Regions from separate parts of the Homo sapiens genome. Here regions 1, 2, 4 and 5 are each linked to region 3. The links are contacts of gene promoters, found by promoter capture Hi-C in human tissues and cell types (Jung and others, 2019). All regions are on one chromosome and are shown on one strand. The core of a region is centred on a gene start or on the middle of the fragment in contact, and the rest is flanking DNA. Distances in the headings are between cores, read along the strand shown.

The links. Contacts are between HindIII fragments. The study calls those that stand out against the background at their distance.
Region 1: a contact is called between a fragment that was not itself captured here and the fragment with the promoter of LRRC8A in region 3, in 6 of the 25 tissues and cell types used here (H1 embryonic stem cells, aorta, dorsolateral prefrontal cortex and 3 more).
Region 2: a fragment that was not itself captured here is called in contact with the fragment with the promoter of LRRC8A in region 3 in 4 of the 25 tissues and cell types used here (dorsolateral prefrontal cortex, hippocampus, lymphoblastoid cells and 1 more).
Region 4: a contact is called between a fragment that was not itself captured here and the fragment with the promoter of LRRC8A in region 3, in 2 of the 25 tissues and cell types used here (bladder and dorsolateral prefrontal cortex).
Region 5: a contact is called between a fragment that was not itself captured here and the fragment with the promoter of LRRC8A in region 3, in 1 of the 25 tissues and cell types used here (dorsolateral prefrontal cortex).

The regions. Positions count from the first base shown.
Region 1 is chr9:128,607,223-128,609,922 of GRCh38, forward strand. It overlaps SPTAN1 (spectrin alpha, non-erythrocytic 1), which reads left to right. Exons shown (of 57, transcript NM_001130438.3): 32 at 382-481; 33 at 630-827; 34 at 908-1,054; 35 at 1,652-1,755; 36 at 1,900-2,062; 37 at 2,429-2,443. Among named protein-coding and RNA genes, the nearest start is that of DYNC2I2, 48 kb to the right of the region's middle. The HindIII fragment of the contact is 5,536 bases long and covers 1-2,700 here.
Region 2 is chr9:128,539,994-128,542,693 of GRCh38, forward strand. It overlaps GLE1 (GLE1 RNA export mediator), which reads left to right. Exons shown (of 16, transcript NM_001003722.2): 15 at 282-345; 16 at 1,109-2,295. The coding sequence ends at 1,177. All of the region lies in intron 2 of LOC101929270 (a long non-coding RNA gene), which reads right to left. Among named protein-coding and RNA genes, the nearest start is that of SPTAN1, 11 kb to the right of the region's middle. The HindIII fragment of the contact is 3,623 bases long and covers 1-2,700 here.
Region 3 is chr9:128,880,842-128,883,541 of GRCh38, forward strand. LRRC8A (leucine rich repeat containing 8 VRAC subunit A) reads left to right here and starts at 1,292. Exons shown (of 4, transcript NM_019594.4): 1 at 1,292-1,409. KYAT1-SPOUT1 (KYAT1-SPOUT1 readthrough) reads right to left here and starts at 1,109. Exons shown (of 25, transcript NR_182311.1): 1 at 1,056-1,109. KYAT1 (kynurenine aminotransferase 1) reads right to left here and starts at 1,109. Exons shown (of 13, transcript NM_004059.5): 1 at 1,056-1,109. RefSeq lists an enhancer at 1,179-1,328 and a silencer at 1,359-1,638. The HindIII fragment of the contact is 17,929 bases long and covers 1-2,700 here.
Region 4 is chr9:128,586,418-128,589,117 of GRCh38, forward strand. SPTAN1 (spectrin alpha, non-erythrocytic 1) reads left to right here. Exons shown (of 57, transcript NM_001130438.3): 20 at 1,189-1,281; 21 at 2,392-2,526. Among named protein-coding and RNA genes, the nearest start is that of SPTAN1, 35 kb to the left of the region's middle. The HindIII fragment of the contact is 3,861 bases long and covers 1-2,700 here.
Region 5 is chr9:128,560,597-128,563,296 of GRCh38, forward strand. All of the region lies in intron 1 of SPTAN1 (spectrin alpha, non-erythrocytic 1), which reads left to right. Among named protein-coding and RNA genes, the nearest start is that of SPTAN1, 9.4 kb to the left of the region's middle. The HindIII fragment of the contact is 5,340 bases long and covers 1-2,700 here.

The sequences.
Region 1 (2,700 bases), core at 195-2,694, 270 kb before region 3:
TGAATTCCTGAGCTCAAGCGATCCTCCTGCCTCAGCCTCCCAAAGTGCTGGGATTACAGGCATGAGCCACCACGCCTGGCCAACAAAAGCTTTTTCATTTGAAGCTATCAAAGACTTAATTGTAGCTAGAACTTGTTATTCTGGAGGGTGAAAAGATCTTAATTATAAGCCTACTGACTTTTCCTCTGAGAAATTCGGACTTTTAAAAAAATAACAAGAAGTTTTTTAACACTTTGCCCAAAGACCTAGCCTCATTCAGTAGATCAGATTAACCCAAGATAACTTTCTGAGGCAAGAATTATGTCATTCTCTGTTTTCCTGGGCAGAAGATCTCCTTACCAGGTAATATAATAGCTATTTTTCTGGGGTGCTGGTTTCCAGGGACCTCATGTCTTGGATCAATGGAATACGGGGGTTGGTGTCCTCAGATGAGCTAGCCAAGGATGTCACCGGAGCTGAGGCATTGCTGGAGCGACACCAGGTGGGTGGACCTGCCTGCTGAGTAGCAAAGACGTGGCTGCTCTGCAGGGCCCTAGAGGCCTCATTCCCACCCTTTGTGGTGAGTCGGTGGTTGACGTCAGAGTGGGCATCTGCTGCCAGTTACCTAATCCCTTCCCTCCTTTTGGCAGGAACACCGGACAGAAATCGATGCCAGGGCTGGCACTTTCCAGGCATTTGAGCAGTTTGGACAGCAGCTGTTGGCTCACGGACACTATGCCAGCCCTGAGATCAAGCAGAAACTTGATATTCTTGACCAGGAGCGTGCAGACCTGGAGAAGGCCTGGGTTCAGCGCAGGATGATGCTGGATCAGTGCCTTGAACTGCAGGTGTGTGTGCTCCTGGTTTCTGACCAAGTGTTTCCTTGCTGAAGGGCCTCATTTTCTCACCTGCCTCTTGCCCTCTTTAGCTGTTCCATCGGGACTGTGAGCAAGCTGAGAACTGGATGGCTGCCCGGGAGGCCTTCTTGAATACCGAAGACAAAGGAGACTCACTGGACAGCGTAGAGGCTCTGATCAAAAAACATGAAGACTTTGACAAAGCGATTAACGTCCAGGTGAGGCCTCTGGACCATGGAGTTGGAGTCTGGATTTTTCCTGATTGACATCTGTTTCTTGGCTTATATAGTCACTGTTATATCTCCAAGGAATACCTGCGTTGTCTAAGAAAAATATGTACATAAATAATCTTTAAAACTTTATAGATTCTGGTATTTCTGAGATTTTAATAATGGGGGTGCCACAGGAAAAAAAAATATTATCAAAGGGATGGAAAACAAATGTGTGGGTAGGTAAGGGAATAATGAACAAACAACAAGGAAGATGTAAAACTGTTTGATTTATACGTCACTTTGCTGTAAATCTGACAGCATTTTCCTATTATCAGGCTTAATTTTGTTCTGTTCTGATATTCTAACACCTGCCCCACCTGAGTGACCTGGAGACTTCTTGAGTTAAACTCTACTCTAGTAATGAATGAAATCAAGCTTTCTTTTGGCATTTTACACTCTTGCTTCTAAAGTGTCAGTGTATTCTGATCCTGCCACCAGCTAGTTCTCAGTCACCCAAAATAACTATCCTTTTCTCAAGACTGGCAGTCCAGGCAGGGCCCAGCCACAGGCCCACCTTGATCTCATGCCTTTGTTTTCTGACAGGAAGAGAAGATTGCTGCTCTGCAGGCCTTTGCCGACCAGCTCATCGCTGCCGGCCATTATGCCAAGGGAGACATTTCTAGCCGGCGCAATGAGGTCTTGGACAGGTGGGTGTCCTGTGGCACTGACATAGTCACCAGCCCTGAGAGGATGCATCCCCTCATACGAAGGCCCAGGCCTGTTCTGTCTCCCCACTTCCTTCTCCACGGTAAGATATGCTCATGTTGGATCTCATGGTTTCACTCTTTCAGGTGGCGACGTCTGAAAGCCCAGATGATTGAGAAAAGGTCAAAGCTAGGAGAATCTCAAACCCTCCAACAGTTCAGCCGGGATGTGGATGAGATTGAGGCTTGGATCAGTGAAAAATTGCAAACAGCGAGTGATGAGTCGTACAAGGATCCCACCAACATCCAGGTAAGCTGAAGTGACTGGGTGTTGGTCTTGATGTAGCCTTATGTTATTGAGTAGATTTTGTTAAATAAAGCATTTATAAAACAATCTCCTTGCACCCATGGGAAGTCAGTGAGAAATATTTCAGTAAGCCCAGCCAGTGGGAAAGCCCTAGTCAAGTTTCAGAGCCATTTAAAAGTTGCCTTCCTCATTTGTCTCCATTAAAACTATTTCTGCTGTAATAAAAGTCTATAGAATCCCCCTTCTATTACTGTTCCCAAATGCTGAGCTTCCTGGGGGAAGTATGACAAAATGAGTTTCTATTTAATAGCTGATATGTGTGTCCACATCAGTGTACTGAACTCTTGTTCTTTTAATCTGTTTTTGTAGCTTTCCAAGCTGCTGGTAAGTTTTTAATTTTTTTAAGAGTTGTAGTTAAATGAGCTCCAGTATTTGTGTTACTCTGCGTAGATTATTGTTATTATTGTGGTCACACGGTTTGCTGGTGTCTCTTCATCCATCCTTTTCATTTCTAATCATCCATTACACTCCATTCAAGTGTCCCTGTGGGATGTGGCTTTTTCTGTTGTAATTAGCCTGCAACGCCTTACTCCCCCTTCTCTCCCCCAGTTTATCACTTAGGCAAATTCTGTACAGTGTTT
Region 2 (2,700 bases), core at 67-2,566, 340 kb before region 3:
AGGATCACTTGAGCCCAGGTGTTCAAAACCAGCCTGGGCAATATAGCAAGACCCCATCTCTACAAAAAAAAAATTAGCCAGGCATGATGGCATGCATCTATAGTCCCAGCTACTAGGGAAGCTGAGACAGGAGGATCGCTTGAGCCCAAGAGTTCAAGGCCTCGGTGAGCTATGATCGCACCACCGCGCTGCACTCCAGCCTAGGTGACAGAGTGAGACACCGTTTCCAAAAGATAGGTGTATATCATAGGTGTGATTCATGTGTCTTTCTCTCCCTGTAGAATTGAAGCTATCACAAGCTCAGGACAGATGGGCTCCTTCATACGCCTCAAGCAGTTCTTGGAGGTAAGATGCCCTTAGACCAACATGCCCCACACTGTTGTTGGGCTGGAATGCACCTATGTCTGACAAGTCTTGGACCTTCCGATGCTCTGATTGCACTCTCTTCCTTAGTTCTTCCAAACCCTTCTTTTTGTTCCTAATTCCCTCTTAACCTTTGGAGTAAGGGCTGCCATTTCCTCTTCTTTATATGTATCATTCTCTATACTGCCTGTGAGAAAGCTATGCTGAGATGAGTAAAATATATTTAGTGTATCTCCTCTCATTAATATATATTTTTTTTGCATGTTGGCCAAGGTTATTTTCTTAGTCTCAGGTCTGGGGAATTGGTAAGTGTCATCACTTTTCTCCATGAGATCAAACTGCACTTTCAGTTGGACTCTTCCCCTACTTCCAAGTGCCAAGAGATTGTAAAAGGTTAATTTTGACAAAGAATTTAGAACACTATAGTGGGTTTGCCAAGATAGCCTGCTGACTTTTCAGCTTCTCAAAGCTCGATTGTGAAAATAGTGATTGTGAAAGATGAGGTTAGCCTGTAGGGAGACAAGAGTGGGACAGGAATAATAAGAGCATTTCATTTGTTGTCTGGAGCAGATCATGCAGAAGTGGACATCTTATACAGAACCATCAGTCTTACTGGCTTTTTCCTTTTTGTTCACTGTTCCATAGGGCTGAAATATGGTGTTCCTCAAAGCTTCTTTTAACCATTAAGTGTTGGGAACACTGTTATCAGAAACTCATTCTGTTTTCTTCATCTTTCCCTGACCAGAAATGTTTGCAACACAAGGACATTCCTGTCCCCAAGGGCTTTCTGACTTCCTCCTTCTGGCGCTCCTGATGTCACTCCATCACCCACCATCACCGCTGCTGCAAAGAGGCAATAATAAAGGAACTGAAGACAGCTGTATTTGGGAGAAGTCATGTCAGATTCAGAAATTTGCCATTATGTATTTTTATGTATTTATGCCTTGTGACTAGGAGAGGAGATTTTCATGGGTCACAAAATTCTTGGAGGTCCCTTAGTAGATTTGGTAGTTCCTTAAGAGATCCACGTGATAAAATAAATGGAGTTGGCCTTTCTTGTTTTTTGCAAAAGTGATAAAAGGTCTTTAGCACTTGGTCTCCTCCCTTGTCTCTAGTGTCTTTCAGAAAGTTGGCAATACCTTAACAAATGCACTCTGAGCTGGAGGGAGCCCACCATTTGCACCCACCTACCCACCCTCACCCCTGTTCAGATGAATTTCCAGAAAGAGCTAAGGCTCATAAGGTTCCCTTTTAAGTATTATTTAATAGTTGAGGCCAGATACTTACATGCAAGTCTGGGTTATGGTTGTTTTGCCTTTCTCAGCTTGTGAAGTCATTCTAAAGCTAGAGGAAGTATGTGATATACACATGGACTAAGGCTCAGGTGACACTATGGCTAGATTAACATCTGGGATTAGGACTGGAAACACATGTCATTTTGAACTAAGGGAAACTCTTTGTCATCCTAATTTGGAATTTGGTCCCTGGATGGCTAGGGATCCATGAACCAGGCAGGTACCTTTTTTGTTTTTGTTTTGTTTTGTTTCTTTTCTGTTTGAATTAAGATGGGCTAAGATGGGGCTTGCAACATTAAACATGAGCTGAGCATCCATAAGCATTGAATTGGGATTAAATAAAGATGTTGGGCAGGAACTGAACACTGCTAATATGATGATAAATATGCCTGACTAAAGCCACTACAGAAATCCAGAGATTGGCTGTTAAAATTTGTTTTGTGGAAAGACTAATTCTCTTTGATACTGCAGAGGCAGTGGCCATGGATCTGTTCCTCTGTGCTAAATGTCTTGTGGCAGGGTGTGTTTGTGGGGGAGTGTTCACTGGTACTCTTGAGTGGCCTGAAGTGACCCATTCTATGAATTGTTAATTAAGGTGCCAAAAAAAATTAATAATAAAGCTTGGTTTTTTGAAAAACCCATTGCTGATATATTGGTTCAATATGATCAATTTCCTCTGCCTTGAGCTATGTAAATCATGATAGTATACAAGTCCAGGTATAGAGCGGTATGCATTTATTCCTTTTGGTCTTCTTGACCTACACCTTGGGAATATTACTTCTTTTTCTGTCATTTCCTTTTTTGGAATTATGTACTAATAACTGACCCTATTTTATCTAGCAAGAGATGTGAAAGTGTATTAAAATCTTTGAAAGACACAATAGGCCGTGCTTAGTGGCTCATGCCTGCAGTCCCAACACTTTGGGAGGCTGAGGTGGGAGGATTGTTTAAGTCCAGGAGTTCAAGACCAGCCTGGGCAACATAGTGAGACCCCCATGTCTAAAACAAATTTTTTTGGCCAGGCGCGGTGGCTCACGTCTTA
Region 3 (2,700 bases), core at 42-2,541:
TGGCTTAACACGTGATGGATGGGAGCCACGACTATCTTCATCATCTTATTTTTAATTATCTATCTGTGCACATGGTAGTAAATTTCTCGCCCTGGCCCAGGTACCCAAGACCCCAATTCTGTCGGAGACAACCGCAATTAACAACTTCTTGTGCATCTTATCAGACAGCTGGCGCGCACACCCGCAGATACGCCCACCCTCAGGCGTCCTTCTACGCAAAGATGGATAGCACCCATCAACGCTGTTTTTTCTTTTTTTAGACGGAGTCTCGCTCTGTCGCCCAGGCTGGAGTGCAGCGGCGCGATCTCGGCTCACTGCAAGCTCCACCTCCCGAGTTCATGCCATTCTCCTGCCTCAGCCTCCAGAGTAGCTGGGACTACAGGCGCCCACCACCACGCCCGGCTGATTTTTTTGTATTTTTAGTAGAGATGAGGTTTCACCAAGTTAGCCAGGATGGTCTCGATCTCCTGACCTCGTGATCCGCCCGCCTCGGCCTCCCAAAGTGCTGGGATTACAGACGTGAGCCACCGCAACCGGCCCAACGCTGTTTTTACTGTTGTTTCCTTTTTTAACCTAAGGTATCTTAGAAGTCACCCTACATTAGTGCATATTAAACATTGTTCGTCTTAATGGCTGCACAGTATTCCACTGTATGGATTATTTTTTAATTTGGTTGCCGGTACTGTTATCAGCCAGGGAATTTGCGAGGACCCAGCGGGATTTATGGAGCTGCAGAGTTGGAGTCTGGGGACCCAATTCCAACCCCAGATCTGTCCAGAATTCTGTTGTCTCGGGTATCATCTCCACCGGCGCGGTCGTGGGAGGGGGATTTGGGTGCAGACAGGACCAGCCCCAGTGTCCGAGCGAGAATCAGCGAGCAGCACGCGCAGTTGATTCCCGCGGGCGGCTCAATCATTCTGTGCAGCCACTCCGTTATACTTAGTAGCATCAAACTCATTAAGCACTCTAGCACAACCAAGCTCGGAACCGTTAGCCGACCCTCCCAGCCTCGGCACCTGACCTTGGGGAAGTGGCGCTCCGACACAGCTACTCACCCTCACCTGGGCCGCTTCACCCCTCGTTCCCAAGTACACCCCGTAGGTTGCAGCAGTCCCTGTCCCTTTAAGGGGGCCGAGCCCGGCTCCGCTACTTCCGCCCCGAAGCAGCAGGGCGCTAGCGCGGAGGCGAGAGCGGGAGAAAGCGCCGCTAGAATTCTCCTCATAAAGATGGCGACGCCCTGGCCGCCGCGTTCGCGCCCGGCGGTGACGTCACTTCCGGGGCGGAGGAGGCTGAGTGGTGCAGTGAGGGACAAACAAAAGGAGGCGCCGGAGCAGCGCTGCGGCCGGCGGCGGGACGGAGCGGCCGGGGCCTGGGGCTGCCTGCCGGGCGGCCGGGCGCGGCGAGCCCAGGTGAGTGGACGGGGTGGGGAAAGGGGCGCGAGCTGTCACCTCTCGAAACCCACTTACACACGCCCTCGGCCAGCTGCCCGGCCCGGGGCGCCCGGGGCATCTGGGGCTCTGTCTCCGGGCCGGCCCCCTGGGGACCTCCCGCGGTGTTCGGCCTACCTCTGGGCTCCCCAGTGCCCGGAGTCTCCGGGGCACCACCTTCTCGCCGGCTCCGCGGCGCGCGAGCCCCCTCCCAGGCACCCCTGTGCCTCCTTGTGCTTCAGAAACCAGGAGTTTCCGCCTCGGCTCCCCCATGTCCCCTTGTCATCCCCTGGGTCCCCCCAGATCCTCACCCCTCCACACACACTCTCCCGTTCCTAGAGGTTCCACCTCTGGGCTCTCTCCTTGCCATTTCTTTTTCAAAGATTTCCTTAGCTGTCTTCTCCTGAGTTCCTGGTCCCCTTCTCTTCCCTTGCACCCCTCCTTCCTATCGTTCCGATGGGGGCAGTGCCCTGACTTGGGGGCAGGATCCCCGGCTAGGCTCTTGGGGCCTTTCTGGGATGGGATATTTGGGAAGACCGGTCCGGAATCTAAGAACCCAGACCCTGTCCCAGTCCTGTGCATTCAGGTGGGCCCGAGGGCGAGGCGAGATCCAGTGAGGTCCAGGCCTGGTGCAGCCCTAGGTGAGCTGGATACCCAGCAAACTGAGCTCCCAGGCTGAAGGGGCATAGCTGGGGTCATGGAGTTCATGATGATTCTGCTGCTTTCGCTGACTGCTTCTTCCCCTTGATCTGGACCGGGGTGAACCGAGGTCTGCCGGTTCTCAGCTGTTGCGATTGTTGCCTTTTTTGGGAAGGAGGGATGGGTCGGGGGTTGTCTGGTAGCCGCCTCCTGATGGAGACTTGGCTGGAAGGGTGGGCGGTTCCTGGGTGAGCCACACTTCCACTGACTCCTCTTCCCCTGCCCTACCTCAGGAAGCCTTTTGAGAATGAGGTGTGGAGGGAGAGCACCTGGTAAGAGGAAGGGAACTGGGGGAGCCCGAAGTTCCCAAGGACCTCTTCCACCTCTTCTGTTAGTAGTACTCTTAACCCCTGCCAAACTGTATTCTGCCCTTTGGAGCAGACAACCTGGCAGACAGACAGGCTGTAAGAAGCGGGAGGAGATCGGCTGTTGCTGATACTTCCTGTGGAGGGGATGTGGGAGTGGGAGTTTGTTCAGAGAGACTGGGCAGTGCTGATTGCTCAGTCTCACTGGTGTTGCTTCCATGAAGGTCAAGTCTTCCTCTGGCTCATGAAGTGAGGCAAGGACAGATGAC
Region 4 (2,700 bases), core at 64-2,563, 290 kb before region 3:
CCACCCCTTCTGGCCCATTTTTCACTTTTTATTATGAAAATGTAATCATACCTAAAGGAGAGAGAAGATGACTTCTCACTCACCTTCAACCGTTAACATTTGTCACTCTTGTTTCATCTATGTGAAACCATATGTGTGCTTACATACATACTAACATACCAACATGCACACATACATATATACATACCTACAAACATACCAGCATACACATGTACATACCAGTGCGCACATATACCCACATACCAACATGCACACATACATACATAGATGTACTTGGTTTTTTACTGGTTATCTGTTTTTTGACTAAAATTCTCAAATTTTATTCATAAAGGTCTAGGTATAGTTCCTGTACCTAGCTCTTACCACTCTTCACAAAAACTAGAATGAGTTGAATTTTTCCTTTTCTTTTTTTTTTTCTGAGACAGAGTCTCACTCTGTCATCCAGGTTGGAGTGCAGTGGCATGATCTCGGATAACTGCAACCTCCACCTCCTGGGTTCAAGCGATTCTTCTGCCTTGGCCTCCTAAGTAGCTGGGATTACAGGCGCCCGCCACCACGCCCAGCTAACTTTTTTTGTATTTTTAGGAGAGATGGGGTTTCACCACATTGGCCAGTTTGGTCTTGAACTCCTGACCTCAAGTGATCTGCCTGCCTCAGCCTCGCAAAGTCCTGGGATTACAGGCGTGAGGCACCGCGCTCGTTCTGTCGCTAGGGCTGGAGTACAGTGATGCAATCACGACTCCCTACAGCTTTGACCTCCTGTGCTCAGCAGTCTTCCTGCCTCAGTCCCCTGAGTAGCTTGGACTACAGGCACGCACCATCACATCTGGCTAATTTTTGTATTTTCTGTAGAGATGAGGTTTCAGTATGTTGCCCAGGCTGGTCTTGAACTCCTGGGCTCAAGCTGTCTGCCTGCCTCAGCCTCCCAAAGTGCTGGGATTACAGGCATAAGCCTCTGTGCCTAGACCAGGATGAGTAAGCTATAATCATAATATATATGATTGTCCCAAAAGATGAGAATCCTGAAAAACTTTGAAAATGATATTAGCACTGTAAGAAGGGCAGGAGGTGATTACGTCATTGTGCAACTGAGAAAGGCTGTTGAGGCAGGATGGCAGGTTGGCGAGGCAGTGGAGGATGGGAGGCTTCAGCCCCTGCACAGTGCTCCATGTGTGGTTTTGGTTTCAGGCTCTACTGAAGAAACACGAAGCTTTGATGTCAGATCTCAGTGCCTACGGCAGCAGCATCCAGGCTTTGCGAGAACAAGCACAGTCCTGCCGGGTAAACTTGTAACAGTTTATGGGTTACTGGAGGGAGGCCTTGAAGGACTCAGATACTGTCAGCAGGTGTTCCTATCATAGGCCCCATTTGACTCTGCTATTAACTCTTGTGACACAAAGATTTACAGAGTTTAAAATAAGATTTATTTATTTATTTATTTATTTAGAGACAGAGTCTCACTCCGTCGCCTAGGCTGGAGTGCAGTGGCACAACCTCGGCTCACTGCAACCTCCGCCTCCTGGGTTCAAGCGATTTTCCTGACTCAGCCTCCTGAGTAGGTGGGATTACAGGTGTTCACCACCATGCCCAGCTAAATTTTTTTTTTTTTTTTGAGATGGAGTCTTGCTAGAGTGCAGTGGCACTATCTTGGCTCACTGCAACCTCTGCCTCCCAGGTTGAAGCAATTACCCTGCCTCAGCCTCCTGAGTAGCTGGGATTACTGGCGCCCGCCACCACGCCCAGCTAATTTTTGTATTTTTAGTAGAGATGGGGTTTCACTATGTTGGCCGGGCTGGTCTTGAATTCCTGACCTCATGATCTGCCCGCCTTGGCCTCCCAAAGTGCTGGGATTATAGGTATGAGCACTGTGCCCGGCCCTACTTTAAAATGAGATTTTTTTTTTTTTTTTTTGAGATGGAGTTTCACTCTTGTTGCCCAGGTTGAAGTGCATTGGCCTGATCTTGGCTCACCGCAACCTCCGCCTCCCAGGTTCAAGTGATTCTCCTGACTCATCCTCCCGAGTAGCTGGGATTACAGGCACGCACCACCACGCCTGTCTAGTTTTGTATTTTTAGTAGAGATGGGGTTTCTCCATGTTGGTCAGGCTGGTCTCGAACCCCCGACCTCAGGTGATCTGCCTGCCTCAGCCTCCCAAAGTGCTGAGATTACACGTATGAGCCACCGTGCCCAGACAAAATGAGATTTTTTTTTTAAAGATACCAAAAATTTAAAGTTCTTGGATCAGATTTTATTGGTAGCTTCAGTGAAGAATTCTCATGAGTGTATATTTGGTACATTTGGTACAGCTGGTGGCATTTGAATCTGCTCTGTACTTAGATGACTCAGCGCGGACGTGTTTTTACCATGTTTGCCCTTCCTTTGGATTTTTAGCAACAAGTGGCCCCCACGGATGATGAGACTGGGAAGGAGCTGGTCTTGGCTCTCTACGACTATCAGGAGAAGAGTCCCCGAGAGGTCACCATGAAGAAGGGAGATATCCTTACCTTACTCAACAGCACCAACAAGGCAAGGCACAGAGAGTGGCTGTGTGTTTGTTCCACGCTGGCACCTCCACGTATGCTCAGTTGGGTTTCTGTGGGTTGCATGTCTCCCTGAAATGAGAAGGCTTAGAATTCAAAGACATGAGTTTCCTCACCAATCCCCCACGTGACATACATTTATGCAGTACTGTGTATGACC
Region 5 (2,700 bases), core at 17-2,516, 320 kb before region 3:
TCTCAAACTCCTGACCTCAGGTGATCTGCCCGCCTCGCCTCCCAAAGTATTGGGATTACAGGTGTGAGCCACTGTGTCTGCCTCACTGTTTTTTCACTCCAAAGTGCAGATGTGAAAAGGAACTAATAAAGAGGGAGTGAAGGCCGGGTGCTGTGGCTCACGTCTGTAATCCCAGCACTTTGGGAGGCTGAGGTGGGTGGATCACCTGAGGTCAGTTCGAGACCAGTCTGGCCAATATGGTGAAACCCAATCTCTACAAAAGTACAAAAATTAGTCGCGTGTGGTGGCGGGTGCCTGTAATCCCAGCTACTGGGGAGGCTGAGGCAGGAGAGTCACTTGAACCTGGGAGGCGGATGTTGCTGTGAACCCAGATAGCATCACTGCACTCCAGCCTGGGCAACAGAGCAAGACCCCATCTCAAAAAAAAAAAAAAAAAAAAGAAGTGAAAGGAACTAATAAATAACCAAACAGCCATCAATAAATAATATGTCGGCCAGGCACGGTGGTTCACGCCTGTAATCCCAGCACTTTGGGAGGCCGAGGCGGGCGGACCACAAGGTCGAGATCAAGATCATCCTGGCCAACATAGTGAAAGCCTGTCTCTTAAAAAGAAGAGAAATACAAAAATTAGCTGGGCGTGGTGGTTTGTGATTGTAGTCCCAGCTACTCGGGAGGCTGAGGCAGGAGAATTGCTTGACCCTGGAGGCGGAGGTTGCAGTGAGTCAAGATCGCACCACTGCAATCCAGCCTGGCGACAGAGCAAGACTCCATCTCAAAAAAAAAAAGGCCAGGCGCGGTGGCTCACGCCTGTAATCCCAGCTCTTTTGGAGGCCGAGGCAGGCAGATCACGAGGTCAAGAGATCGAGACCATCCTGGCTAATATGGTGAAACCCCATCTCTGCTAAAAATACAAAAAATTAGCCGGGCGAGGTGGTGGATGCTTGTAGTCCCAGCTAGTCGGGAGGCTGAGGCAGGAGAATGGCATGAACCGGGGAGGCGGAGCTTGCAGTGAGCCGAAATTGCACCACTGCACTCCAGCCTGGGCAACAGAGCGAGACTCCGTCTCAAAAAAAAAAAAAAAAAAAAAAAAAAGAATATGTCAATATGTCAACTCTAATCATGTTAAGAATCACTGTGTCTATTGTGCCATATTCTGGGAACCGGAGGATCCCAGGTCATCCTGGCCTTTGCAACTTGCTTACTAAATTACCTGTCTCCCAACTACTTAATTATAAAACGATGGCAGTTTCTTTATTTCCAAGCTCTGAATATAATTGGATCTATAATATGTGCCAAGTCCTGAGTTCTGTGCCCAGAGAGTAAGAGTAAAATATGGTCTTCTTTAGAGTTCCTTAAAGGACTTATGAATGTGGTAGGGAGAACACAATAATTTCATGGCAGAATGTGGCAGTGTTATAAGATGAATGATAGAGGTGGGTGGTCAGGGAGTGGAGACTTCTGATTCAGAAAGACTTCATAGAGGACGAGGCATTTGCTTTGGACTCAGAGATCTGTATGATTTGTTTTTTATATTTTTTATTTTTTTGACAGGCTGGAGTGCAGTGACGCGATCTGGGCTCATCACAACCTCCGCCTCTCAGGTTCAAGCGATTCTTCTGCCTCAGCCTCCCGAGTAGCTGGGGCTACAGGCGCGTGCCACCACACCCGGCTAATTTTTGTATTTTTAGTAGAGATGTGGTTTCACCATGTTGGCCAGGCTGGTCTGGAGCTCATGACCTTGTGATCCACCTGCCTCGGCTTCCCAAAGTGCTGGGATTACAGGCGTGAGCCACCGCGCCCAGCCGAGATCTGTATGATATTAGATGGTAGGGTTGGGAGTGGGAGAGGAGAGTGCACTCCTGGGAAAGGGAACTTTTTGAGCTTTCAAATGGACCCTGTCCAGGACCTGTAATTGGTGTTGGTGAGGGAGCTTGACATGAGATACGGCTGGAGGAGACAACTGGAAGGTGACTGAGTGAAGTCTTGTTTACCTTGTAGTAAATGTGATTATAGTGATCCTTGTCAGGGTCCTCATCAGAAATCAGCCTTCTCCAAAATAGGCTGACAGACTTAGGGCAGCAGTGTAAACTATGACTGCCTGTTATCATTAAATATTACAAAACTTTGGGAGGCCAAGGTGGGCGGATCACGAGGTCAGGAGATCGAGACCATCCTGGCTAGCACGGTGAAACGCCATCTCTACTAAAAAATAGAAAATATTAGCCGGGCGTGATGGCAGGCGCCTGTGGTCCCAGCTACTCAGGAGGCTGAGGCAGGAGAATGGCGTGAACCCAGGAGGTGGAGCTTGCAGTGAGCCGAGATCACGCCACTGCACTCCAGCCTGGGCGACAGAGTGAGACTCCGTCTAAAAAAAAATATATATATACATGTATGTGTATATATATATATATATATATATATATATATATATGTATATATTTTATTACAAAAACTGCTCTGAGCAGACATTAAGCTTTTCAAGGTCACTCCCAGTTTTTGGTTTTAAGGACTTGACGTCTGTTTTAAGAATAGAAAATAGGCCAGTGCAGTGGCTCATGCTTGTAATCCCAGCACTTTGGGAGACTGAGGCATGTGTATCACTTGAGTCCAGGAGTTCGAGACTAGCCTGGGCAACATGGTGAAACCACACCTGTACAAAAAATATAAAAATTATCCAGGTGTGCTGGCACCTGCCTGTAC